2 separate regions of the Homo sapiens genome follow, and region 2 is linked to region 1. The links are contacts of gene promoters, found by promoter capture Hi-C in blood cells and fetal thymus (Javierre and others, 2016). All regions are on one chromosome and are shown on one strand. The core of a region is centred on a gene start or on the middle of the fragment in contact, and the rest is flanking DNA. Distances in the headings are between cores, read along the strand shown. Region 1 holds the start of MRPS17 (mitochondrial ribosomal protein S17). Region 2 has its middle 130 kb from the start of SEPTIN14.

Region 1 (6,265 bases), core at 3,480-5,979:
CCAGGATGGTCTCGATCTCCTGACCTTGGGATCCGCCCATCTCAGCCTCCCAAAGTGCTGGGATTACAGGCATGAGGTACGACACCTAACTCTGTGTATTTATTTAAGAAAACAATTGATGTTCTTTAAACAGTCAGCATTCCTCTACTTATTTGGACATTTGCAACTAATAAATAAAAAATTAAGAATTTCTAAAATTAGATATGCCTACTCTTTTAAACATTAACTTCAGATGTAAACAGATCTTAATGTTTCATTATATCCAAACCTAAACTGTCAGATTCTATTAAATGCTTTAAACACTTCAAGAAACAGAAAAGATACACCCAGATGTCACAATCATTATACCAAAACCAGTTGAAAAATGTTAACTGCGTGGATTTAATTTTTTTCTTATCCTTATTTGAACACTTTTCCAATTGGAACAGGGTTCCAATTTTCCATATGTTTCTAGGTTTATGTTTTTTTTTTTTGACAGAGTCTCACTCTGTCACCCAGGCTGGAGTGCAATGGCACAATCTCAGCTCACTGCAACCTCTACCTCCCAGGTTCAAGCAATTCTCTTGCCTCAGCCTCCCAAGGAGCTGGGATTACAGGTGCCCACTACCACGCCCAGCTACTTTTGTGTATTTTTAGTAGAGACGGGGTTTCGCCATATTGGCCAGGCTGGTCTCGAACTCCGACCTCAGGTGATCCACCTGCCTTGGCCTCCCAAAGTGCTGGGATTTCAGGCCTGAGCCACACTGCACCCGACCTTTTTTTTTTTTTTTTTTTTTTGAGACAGAGTCTTGCTCTGTTGTCCAGGCTGGAGTGCAGTGGCATGATCTCAGCTCACTGCAATCTCCGTCTCCTGGGTTCAAGCAATTCTTCTGCTTCAGTCTCCCTAGTAGCTGGGATTACAGGCATGCACCACCACGCCCGGCTATTTTTTTTTTTTTTTTGTATTTTTAAGAGAGATGAGGTTTCACCATATTGGCCAGGCTGGTCTCCAACTCCCGACCTTGTGATCCGCCTGCCAATCTTACCAGACCCAAAATAATAATACTGTCTCAAACTAAATTGTAGCATATGCATTAGCAATGCCTCATCCTTGGTCACGTCATCCATAAGACCTTGCATCAATGAAATAACTCTTATTTGGTCTTTTATAACAAAATATCACTTGTAGTGTTGTGGGACATTTTAAGACCTTTTGTATAAACTTTAAATTTTTGAGACTTGAACTTTCCCAAAAGTATCTAGCCATTGTCTGGTCATTTTTTTGACAGGACATAATGATCTTTTTAGCTAGCATTATTCCAAAGCCTTTATATTCCTTATTTGTATAATCAAAAGGCCATCCAGCTCCTTCTTCGTGAAGAGTGCAGTTTTTGTAGTCAGCTTTTCATTGTAGAACATTTGGCTGCTTAATCATTTTGAAACACACTGTTGAATCCTGCTTCTCCTTGGTTATTATTGTATGTAATCATTAGAGCCAATTAACTGTTAGACCGTCTTTCTACTTTGTTGAAGTAACTATTTTAACTGTTAGACCATCTTTCTACTTTGTTGAAGTAACTTTTTCCAAGATTACTTGGCTTGCCTAGCACCCCAATGTTTATTATTTCTTGATTAAACAGGAACAAATCTATATACACATACATATATATGTGTGTGTGTACATATGCTCGTACCTAGTAAGAAAAAAATATATATTTTTAGGTCAATAATGAATAAGGCTGGGTGCAGTGGCTCACGCCTGTAATCCCAGCACTTTGGGAGGTCAGGGCAGGTGGATCATTTGAGGTCGGGAGTTCAAGAGCAGCCTGGCCAACAAGATGAAACCCTGTCTCTACTAACAATACAAAAATTAGCCGGGTATGGTGACGAGTGCCTGTGATCCCAGCTACTCGGGAGGCTGAGGGAGGAGAATCACCTGAACCCAGGATGCAGAGGTTGCAGTGAGCGAAGATCACCCCACTGCACTCCAGCCTCAGTGACAGAGTGAGACTCTGTCTCAAAAAAAAAAAAAAAAGACTATTGTACATTCACATAGTAAAGTTCTGTGCAACTGAAAAGAAAGATCAGCATGTTCAGTACACTCCAGAAGCTGATTTGGAGCGATTCTTCCAGGATATGTTAAGTGAAAAGGGCAAATACAAAGCAGTCTACATAGAATGTTACTTTTGTAAGAGAATATATACAATCTTTGCAAAAAGAAATATAAGCAGGCCAAACCAGAAACTAATAAATTAGTTACCTATGGGAAACAAGAACAAGATCAAAAAGATTGGGAATGGAATGAAATTTCTCTGCTTGTATCTTTTTAAAGTTTTAGTCCTTCCTTCTCCCCTCCCCTCCCCTCCCCTTCCCTTCCCCCCTCCCTTCCCGTCCCTTTTTTTTTTTTTTTTTTTTTTTTTTTTTGAGACAGAGTCTCACTCCCTCACCCAGGCTGGAGTGCACTGGCACCATCTCCGCTCACTGCAACCTCCACCTTCCAGGTTCAAGCGATTCTCCTGCCTTAGCCTCCTGAGTAGGTGGGATTACAGGCGTGTGTCACTATGCCCAGCTAATTTTTGTATTTTTAGTAGGGATGGAGTTTCACCATGTTGCCACAGGCTGATCTCGAACTCCTGGCCTCAGGTGATCCGCATGCCTCGGCCTCCCAAAGGGCTGGGATTATAGGCGTGAGCCACTGCGCCCAGCCTTAAAGTTTTAATTTTTGAACCATTTTAATGATTTACACATTCAAAAAATAAGATTAAAAGGATATGGTTTTTCCTATCCTCGAATACAAAATTGTATACAAACATATAAAAATGAAGGCCAGGCACGGTGGCTCACGCCTGTAATCCCAACACTTTGGGAGGCCGAGGCGGGCGGATCATTAGGTCACAAGATGGAGACCATCCTGGCTAACGCGGTGAAACTCCATCTCTACTAAAAATACAAGAAAAATTAGCCGGGCGTGGTGGCGGGTGCCTGTAGTCCCAGCCACCCGGGATGCTGAGGCAGGAGAATGGCGTAAACCCAGGAGGCAGAGCTTGCAGTGAGCCGAGATTGTGAGCGAGACTCCGTCTGAAAAAAAAAAAAAAATCTAATTGTATAGAATATTGTTACAACCACACAGAAGAAAAAAAAAGAATCCCAAGAAATGTTGAACACAGTGCTGTCATTGTACACTCTAAGGACAAAAAGAACCACAAAAAATAATCTCACGCATCACTTAGAAAGTTTGTTTTTAGTCGGGATATTGTTAGTACAACTCCAAAAGCATATAGTGTATACTATAGGATTTAGCATTAATCATTGATGTTGTCGGGGTAGGGACCAGAGTTCTAACTGTGGAAGAAAGGAGATAAAAATACGGAACTGGTGAAGCAAAAGAAGAAACCCACTGGTGGCTCATGCCTGTAATCCCAGCACTTTGGGAAGCCGAGACGGGCGGATCACGAGGTCAGGAGATCGAGACCATCCTGGCTTACACGGTGAAACCCCGTCTCCACTAAAAAAAATACAAAAAATTAGCCGGCCTGGTGGCAGGCGCCTGTAGTCCCAGCTACTCGGAAGGCTGAGGCAGGAGAATGGCGTGAACCCGGGAGGCGGAGCTTGCAGTGAGCCGAGATCGCGCCAGTGCACTCCAGCCTGGGCGACAGAGACAGCCTCCGTCCCAAAAAAGAAAGAAACCCACTGCTGTTTAAAGGTAGGTGTGTGTGTGCGTGTGTGTATGTTTCAATGTATCGATAGCTACATCTGCTGAAATAGCCTACAGGCAGGAAAATCCCAGTAGCAAGTTGCTCACCTAGCACTCAGAGCTTTGTTGCTAAGTACCACTCCCCACTGATATTTTTCGTTTGAAAAACTTCTGATACAATAACTGGTCAGGGAAAGTATAGGTAAATCTGGACCAGCCAGGCACAGTGGCTCATGCCTGTAATCCCAGAACTTTGGGAGTCCGAAATAGGTGGATCACTTGAGGCCAAGAGTTCAAGAACAGCCTGGCCAACATGGTGAAATCCCGTCTCTACTAAAAATAAAAAAAATTAGCTGGACGTGGTGCCAGATGCCTGTAGTCCCAGCTACTCAGGAGGCTGAGGCAGGAGAATCCCTTAAACCCAGGAGGCAGAGGTTGCAGTGAGTCAAGATCATGCCACTGCACTCCAGCCTGGGCAACAAGAGTGAGACCCTGTCTCAAAAAAAAAAAAAAAAAAAACACTTTTAGGCCAGGCACGGTGGCTCACGCCTGTAATTCCAACACTTTGAAAGGCCAAAGTGGTTGGATCACTTAAGGCCAGGAGTTCGAGACCAGCCTGGCCAACATGTGAAACCCTGTCTCTACTAAAAATACAAAAATTAGCTGGGCATGGTGGTGCACGCCTGTAATCCCAGCTACTTGGGAGGTTGAGGCAGAAGAATCGCTTGAACCCGGGAGGCAGAGGTTGCAGTGAGCAGAGATCGCGCCACTGCACACCAGCCTGGGCGACAGAGCGAGACTCCGTCTCAAAAAAAAAAAAAAAAAAAAGAAACAAAACAAAAGAATGAAAGAAAAGTCCGAAACCTCCTGCGCCACTGTCCACTAGCTGCGCGCGTTAGGAAACCAGAGGTCAGCGCCCCCGACCCCGCCACCGCCGCGGGTCCCTTTAAGGGAGAGTGGGCGGGGTCCTGCCTTTAACTCCGCCCACGGCTAAGGAGATGCACGGCCTACGAGAGGGGTAGTGTGGGACTGAGCCAATGCGTACGGCGTGACGCCATCCCGCTGCGACCGGCGCTCCCCGGGGCAGGTGGCTGCATAGTCTTGGCGGAGGTGAGTCTCGTGGTGGAGGTGAGGGCAGGCTCCGGGGTATTGCTGCCGGGGGAGGATTTGCTGGGGACCCAAGGCACCCTCGCGTGAGAGCCCTGAGAGCGAATCGCTTCGTCTGACCTCGGGGTTGTCTGGGGCGAGGGCACGAATCACCCCAACCTTTCCGAAGCCTGGTGGAATGGCTTGTGAACTGATCTCAAAAGCAGCCCAAGTCATCCGTCGCTGGGCCGGGGAGGGGGACACCGCGGCGGCCCCGCCGAGTGCTACCTGGGCACTGAGCCTGTGGGGAGAGGCGACCCAGCGGGGTGGAGAGAGATAAGGGACCAGTAACGTCCAGCGTTTGTCCGTGGTATTGAGCGTTCTGTGGGTCAAATTCTCAAAGCACTCCTGCGAAATAGGCCTGCCCATTTTGCAGAAGGGGAACGTGAGGCTTGGCGAAGTTAAAGTTACCGCTTTGTAAGCGCTGTAAAGATGAGAGGTTGGGTAGTGGGGAACGTGTAAGCATCTCTGAAATGGTGATTCAAGCCGGGCGCGGTGGCTCACGCCTCTTAATCCCAGCACTTTGGGAGGCTTGAGGCGGGCGGATCACCTGAGGTCAGGAGTTCGAGACCAGTCTGGCCAACATGGTGAAACTCTGTCTTTACTAAAAATACAAAAATTAGCTCGGCGTGGTGGTGCGGGCCTGTAGTCCCGGCTACTCGGGAGGCTGAGGGAGAAGAATCGCTTGAACCCGGGAGGCGGAGGTTGCAGTGAGCCGAGATCGCGCCACTTCACTCCAGACTGGGCGAAAGAACTAAACTTCATCTAAAGAAAAATACATATGGCCGGGCGCGGTGGCTCACGCCTGTAATCCTAGCACTCTGGGAGGCCGAGGCGGGCGGATCACGAGGTCAGGAGATCAAGACCATCCTGGCTAACACGGTGAAACTCCATCTCTACTAAAAATACAAAAAAATTAGCCGGGCGTTGTGGCGGGCGCCTGTAGTCCCAGCTGCTCGGGAGGCTGAGGCAGGAGAATGGCGTGAACCCAGGAGGCGGCGTTTGCAGTGAGCCAAGATCGCACCACCGCACTCCAGCCTGGGCGACAGAGAGAGACTACATCTAAAAAAAAACAAAACAAAACTGTTTCTGGGTGGAGGGGGGAACGAAAAAGAAAAAAACTGTTTCTGGACTAACCTGGACAGTTCTTGTGACAAAATTCATGTGGCATCATAACCACCAGAATATGAGACTTTGGAATTTGCTTTTCAGGTGACCAAAGCCACGTAATGTCCGTAGTTCGCTCATCCGTCCATGCCAGATGGATTGTGGGGAAGGTGATTGGGACAAAAATGCAAAAGACTGCTAAAGTGAGAGTGACCAGGCTTGTTCTGGATCCCTATTTATTAAAGGTGAGAAACATTCTTGTTTCCGGGTGGCTTTGGTAAATCACCACCATGTCCTGGGTCCTAAGCAAAAAAACATTTATCTCTCAGTAAAGATGTC
Region 2 (6,363 bases), core at 2,147-4,646, 220 kb before region 1:
ATAAAAACGAATGTCTGCTCGTGGTGGCAGGATCTAGGAGCCTGTAGTCCTAACTACTTGAGAGCCTGAGGTGGGAGGATCTCTTGAGCCCAGAAGTTCAAGTCCAGCCTGGGCAACATACCACGACTCTGTCTCAAAAAAGAAAAAAAAATCTTGCTATTAAAAAATGTCACAAATTTTTTAAAGACAAATGATAAATTAAAAAAATACTTGGCCAGGCGCTGTGGCTCACGCCTGTAATCCCAACACTTTGGGAGGCCAAGGCGGGCGGATCTCGAGGACAGGAGATCGAGACCATCCTGGCTAACACGGTGAAACCCCATCTCTACTAAAAATACAAAAATTAGCTGGGCGTGGTAGCGGGCACCTGTAGTCCCAGCTACTCAGGAGGCTGAGGCAGGAGAATGGCGTGAACCCGGGAGGGGGAGCTTGCAGTGAGTTGAGATCGCACCACTGCACTCCAGCCTGGCGACAGAGCAAGACTCCATCTCAAAAAAAAAAAAAAAAAAATACTTACGGCCAGGCATGGTGGCTCACACCTGTAATCCCAGCACTTTGGGAGGCTGAGGCGGGTGGATCATGAGGTCAGGAGTTCAAGACCAGCCTGGCCAAGATGATGAAACCCCGTCTCTACTAAAAATACAAAAATTAGCTGGGCGTGGTGGCAGGCACCTGTAATCCCAGCTACTCGGGAGGCTGAGGCAGGAGAATCACTTGAACCTGGGAGGTGGAGGCGACAGTGAGTCCAGATCACACCACTGCACTCAAGCCTGGGTGACAGAGCAAGACTCTGTCTCAAAAATAAAAAAGAAAAGAAAATAGAGAGTGTACTTTCACTTGGACCAAAGGCTGCACCTCCCCAATCTATAGATTGTTTCTCAGAAAATAGAAGGTCTCAATTTTCCTCAAAAAAAGAAAAGAAAATTAAGACAATGAAGTACATTGTTACAGCATTTAAAGAGATGCATGATTTTGTTTTGTTTTGTTGTTGTTTTGGTTTAGTTTTTTTTGTTTGTTTTTTATTTTGAGACGGAGTCTCGCTCTGTCACCCTGGCTGGAGTGCAGTGGCGTGATCTCGGCTCACTGTGAGCTCCGCCTCCCGGGTTTACGCCATTCTCCTGCCACAGCCTCCCGAGTAGCTGGGACTACAGGAGCCCGCCACCACGCCCGGCTAATTTTTTTGTGTGTTTAGTAGAGACGGGGTTTCACCGTGTTAGGCAGGATGGTCTCGATCTCCTGACCTCGTGATCCACCCGCCTCGGCCTCCCAAAGTGCTGGGATTACAGGCGTGAGCCACTGCGCCCTGCCAAGTTTTTTGATACCAAGTAACAGAACTCCAAATTTCACATAGGGAATTAAAAAAAAATCATCTGAGGAATACCAGAGGTTTTCACTCAATTGAGGGGTTGTATCCAATTCAGAGAAGTGGCCAGGTTTCCCCTGCTAGGAGGAGTGCAAGAATCACTAGAACCAATATGGCTGTTTGCTGACATGCTCTGTCTCCATTTCTTGTTTCTGCAGGTTTGTATATGGGCTTTGTTCTAAGATGCAGGTTGTCTTCTGCCACATATCAAAAAACAACGCCCTTGACATCTCTTAACTTGAACATCTGGCAGCTCCATTATCAGAAACTAGGTCTTTCCCAGCATCAGTGTTTTACGTCACTGGCTTGGGACTGCAGCCCTGCCCACCAATCAGCTATGAGCAGACCAGTGCTTTGTAGTGCAGACTTAACTACCAGAGCCCACCCCTGTGGTTTGGAAATCATTCCCCAGAAGGGGAAACCACAAAGAGTTAAGAGTAACTTGTAGAAGAATTTGACCATATGTAACAAAAGCTCTATGAATGGGTATAAGCTTGACCCAGCAATAGCATTTCTACCAATTTACCCCAAGGAAGTAATTAAGAATACATGCAGAGACTCAGCTGTAAGAATATGCTTTACAGTATCATCAATAATGGAGAGAAATAATCCAATATGAAACTTTCAATTAATTATCATACATCTACACAGCCATCAAAGTAGTGTTATAAAAATATACTTATTGATATTGGAAACTGTTTATTTTTAAAAAGCATATTAAAAAACGGTCAGCCGGGCGCGGTGGCTCACGCCTGTAATCCCAGCACTTTGGGAGGCTGAGGCGGGCGGATCACGAGGTCAGGAGATCGAAACCATCCTGGCTAACACGGTGAAACCCCATCTCTACTAAAAATACAAAAAATTAGCCGGGCGTGGTAGCAGCTGCCTGTAGTCCCAGCTACTCGGGAGGCTGAGGCAGGAGAATGGCGTGAACCCGGGAGGCGGAGCTTGCAGTGAGCCGAGATTGCGCCACTGCACTCCAGCCTGGGTGACAGAGCAAGACTCCGTCTCAAAACAAAAACAAAGGCCGGGCGCGGTGGCTCAGGCCTGTAATCCCAGCACTTTGGAAGGCTGAGGCGGGCGGATCACGAGGTCAGGAGATCGAGACCATCCTGGCTAACAGGGTGAAACCCCGTCTCTACTAAAAATACAAAAATTTAGCCTGGCATGGTAGCGGGCACCTGTAGTCCCAGCTACTCGGGAGGCTGAGGCAGGAGAATGACGTGAACCGGTGAACCCAGCTAATTTTTTGTATTTTTAGTAGAGACGGGGTTTCACCGTGTTAGCCAGGATGGTTTCGATCTCCTGACCTCGTGATCCACTCGCCTCGGCCTCCCAAAGTGCTGGGATTACAGGCGCCAGCCGGCCAATAAACTGTCTTTAAACAGAAACACACATAAAACAAGATTATGTATTGATCAGTTGAGGGAATATTGTGACCAAAGCCTTGCAGAAACCTAACCCAGAATTTCTCCTAAAAGCAATGGTTCAGTGTTTGCTAGTTCAGTATTTGCTGGGACTTTATAACAAAATTACTACATATAATGAGAACCGACAGTATGGGGCCGGGCGCAGCGGCTCACACCTGTAATCCCAGCACTTTGGGAGGCTGAAGCAGGTGGATCTCCTGAGATCAGGAGTTAAAGACCAGCCTGGCCAACATGGCGAAACCCCTTCTCTACTAAAAATACAAAAATTAGACGGCTGTGGTGGCACACACCTGCAGTCTCAGCTACTTGGGAGGCTGAGGCAGAAGAATTGCTAGAACCTGAGAGGCGAGGTTACCGTGAGCTAAGATCCCGCCACTGCACTCCAGCCTGAGCAACAGAGCTAGACTCCATCTCAAAAAAAAAAAAAAAAAAAAAAAAAAAAAAAAAAAAAAAAAAACTGACACTATCCTGACACTATCTAGGAATGGAATTTCTGGATCATATGAAACCCGACTGGTAGCTCTATCCTCGCCCACCACTGCCGCCTCCTTCTGCCGCTCCTGGTGCTGCTTGTGTGCTCGTTTGGTGCGGACCTGGTACCTCTTTTGTGAAGTGGCAGCTGAGGAGACCGGCGCTCGCCATGGCCGACGAAAAGCCCAACCAAGGAGTCAAGTCGGAGAACAACGATCATACTAATTTGAAGGTGGCGGGGCAGGATGGTTCTGTGGTGCAGTTTAAGATTAAGAGGCATACACCACTTAGTAAACTAATGAAAGCCTATTGTAAGCAACAGGGATTGTCAATGAGGCAGATCAGATTCCGATTCGACGGGCAACCAATCAAGGAAACAGACACACCTGCACAGTTGGAAATGGAGAATGAAGATACAATTGATGTGTTCCAACAGCAGACGGGAGGTGTCTACTGAAAAGGGAACCTGCTTCTTTACTCCAGAACTCTGTTCCTTAAAGACCAAGATTACATTCTCAATTAGAAAACTGCAATTTGGTTCCACCACATCCTGACTACTACCATATGGTTTTCTCTGTTCTTTCATTTCCCCCTTCCCCATTCCTTTATTGTACATAACTGGTATATGTGCACAAGCATATTGCATTTTTTTTAACTAAACAGCCAATGGTATGTTTTGATTGACATCAAGTGGAGACGGGATGGGGAAAAAGTACTGATTCTGTGAAAATACCCCCTTTCTCCATTAGTGGCATGCTCATTCAGCTCTTTATATTCCAGTAAGTTATTTTGCTCTCACTGTTTTAACAACAAAAAAAACACACAAAAATCCTTGCATACCTTGTTCAATTGCAGAATTTTAATGTTTTTCACTTATCATTGTAAAACCAAGGACAATTTTATAACTTTTTTGTACATAGCTGTTACATGTAGGGCAATCTGTCTTTAAGTAGGGACAAATTAAAACAAAAAAAGAAACCTAGATAGTTTTCCCTTCAAGTCAAGCGTCTTGTTGTTTAAATAAACTTCTTGTTTAAAAAAAAAAAAAGAAAGAAAGAAAAGAAACTCCACTGGTAACTTTCTGAGGAACTGCCAAAACTTCACTTTATAGTTTTGTAGGTTGCAAAAAAATAATCTGATGTCCAAGATCACCAGAGGAACAACACCTGTTCCCCCCTCCTATCCAATGGTCTCTCTCCTGAGTGCACTGACTTACTTGCAGAGGAGGAATAAACACAAAAGAAGAAGAAAAAAGCAAGTCAAAGGACATAAATATGGCTCCCTGTGACTTCTCTTATGGAGGTGTGCCCTACTTCACAGTCTTTTATACACAGACAGAAGATAGTCACCATTTTGGACTTTCTCTTTGTTCTGCTTTTTTGGTTTTTTTACTTTTTCTTACTTTCTTACTTCTTTGTACTGACTCATACGTCTCCACATTACAAATGTAATAAATTAACTAGATGCAACAAGAAACAGACTAAACAAGGCTGAAAGCAAATTAATGGCATGGAAGAAAGTATGATCTGAAGCCAGGTGTGGTGGCTTAGGCCTGTAATCCCTGAGTAATCTCAAAAAAAAAAAAAAAAAAAAAACAGAAAAGAAAAAAAGAAAAGAAAGTTTGTGATCTGAGAGACCAAAATAGACACCACTTTATCGACTAAGTTGCACTCAAAGCTTCAGGAAATGAAGTTACCTACGGGCAGAGGGTTCAGGGCCTGGCTGGCATGGCAAATGTCTAAATTCCTTTGGCTAAACTCCCTAACAATAGGAGCTATCAATTCTGATTTACAACCCAGACCACTACAACTCTGATTGGACAGGGGACGGGCCTCACAAACATTCTTTTCTGATAAGCTACTGCAGGCTTTTGGCCAGTTTCAGCAGCTTATAGAGGATTTGCACGAACTGTCTGTGTATCCTGTAGTTCACTTTTTGTTGTAAAGAGCCAAATTCCATCTCGTTTTAATGCTAAAACTCAGTCTCAAAGTAAATGTGGGATGTGTGTGACATATGTGTTTACCCAATTCCCTTATAAATATGTATAGCATTTCCCTCAAAGCTGCTGAATATGATATGGTTTGGTGATATACTTTGGCTGTGTCCCCACCCAAATCTCATCTTGAATTGTAGTTCCCATAATCCCGACGTGTGGTGGGAGGGACCTGGTGGGAGGTAATTGAATCATGAGGGTTGTTATCTCCATGCTGTTCTGGTGATAGTGAGTTCTCACCAGATCTGATGGTTTTATAAGGGGCTTTCCCCTCATTGCTCAGCACTTCTCCTTGCTGCTGCCATGTGAAGAAGGACGTGTTTGCTTCCCCTTCTCCCATGATTGTAAGTTTCCTGAGGCCTCCCTAGCCCTGTGGAACTGTGAGCCAATTAAACTTCTTTCTTTTATAAATTGCCCAGTCTCAGGTATTTCTTCATAGCAGCATGAGAATAGACTAATACAATATGTATGATACTGGCCTTATGAGACTTAACTAACTCTCAAGCTATCCTTCTCCTCTTCTAAGAGAGTGCACCTTCCAGCCACATCAGAGCCATAAGCCAAAAAAGAAAAAGAATTCTAAGCAATAATAAAAAAGAGGTGAGCAAAAGGGAGTAGTGGGAGAGAGTGTAACAGTGATGAAGTCCTCACAGACCTTCTTGGAATTGGATATCTGCAGCAGTCTATCAAAGAGAAAGTTTTACCATGTACCAGGATATCAATGGATGCTTTAAAAGTGGAAATATGTGGTTAAAACTGAAAGAAACCAATATTCTTCTGTAATATACTAGGGATTGTAGAGCTGAAGAAGATTAAAGGGCAGAGGACACTCTACCCTTCCCTCCGCTTGCCTGATGGCAGGACGGCAATTTACAAAGACAAAAGGTTTTCCTGCCTCCTCTCTGCCTTTCCCACCTAAAGATAGGATTTGAAGGGTTTGCTTATAAGCTCATAGACAAAAGCGCCAGAGACTTTTCTCTTCCCATAGATTATTAACCTTCCGACATTTTCCCACCTTTTGGAAACCTGAAGATGCTCTCTTGTCACTATAGGATTTATGAGTCTTTGTTAAAATACTATTTAAGCAAGGCCCCTAAGCCACTGCC

Evidence for each region. Contacts are between HindIII fragments. The CHiCAGO score rates a contact against its expected background, and 5 or more counts as called.
Region 2: a fragment that was not itself captured here is called in contact with the fragment with the promoter of MRPS17 in region 1 in 1 of 17 cell types (erythroblasts); the score reaches 6.1 in erythroblasts.

Annotation. Positions count from the first base shown.
Region 1 is chr7:55,947,148-55,953,412 of GRCh38, forward strand. It overlaps MRPS17 (mitochondrial ribosomal protein S17), which reads left to right and starts at 4,730. Exons shown (of 3, transcript NM_015969.3): 1 at 4,730-4,783; 2 at 6,032-6,171. The coding sequence starts at 6,049. RefSeq lists an enhancer at 4,783-4,842. The HindIII fragment of the contact is 16,512 bases long and covers 1-6,265 here.
Region 2 is chr7:55,728,711-55,735,073 of GRCh38, forward strand. It overlaps the pseudogene SUMO2P3. Among named protein-coding and RNA genes, the nearest start is that of SEPTIN14, 130 kb to the right of the region's middle. The HindIII fragment of the contact is 3,085 bases long and covers 1,855-4,939 here.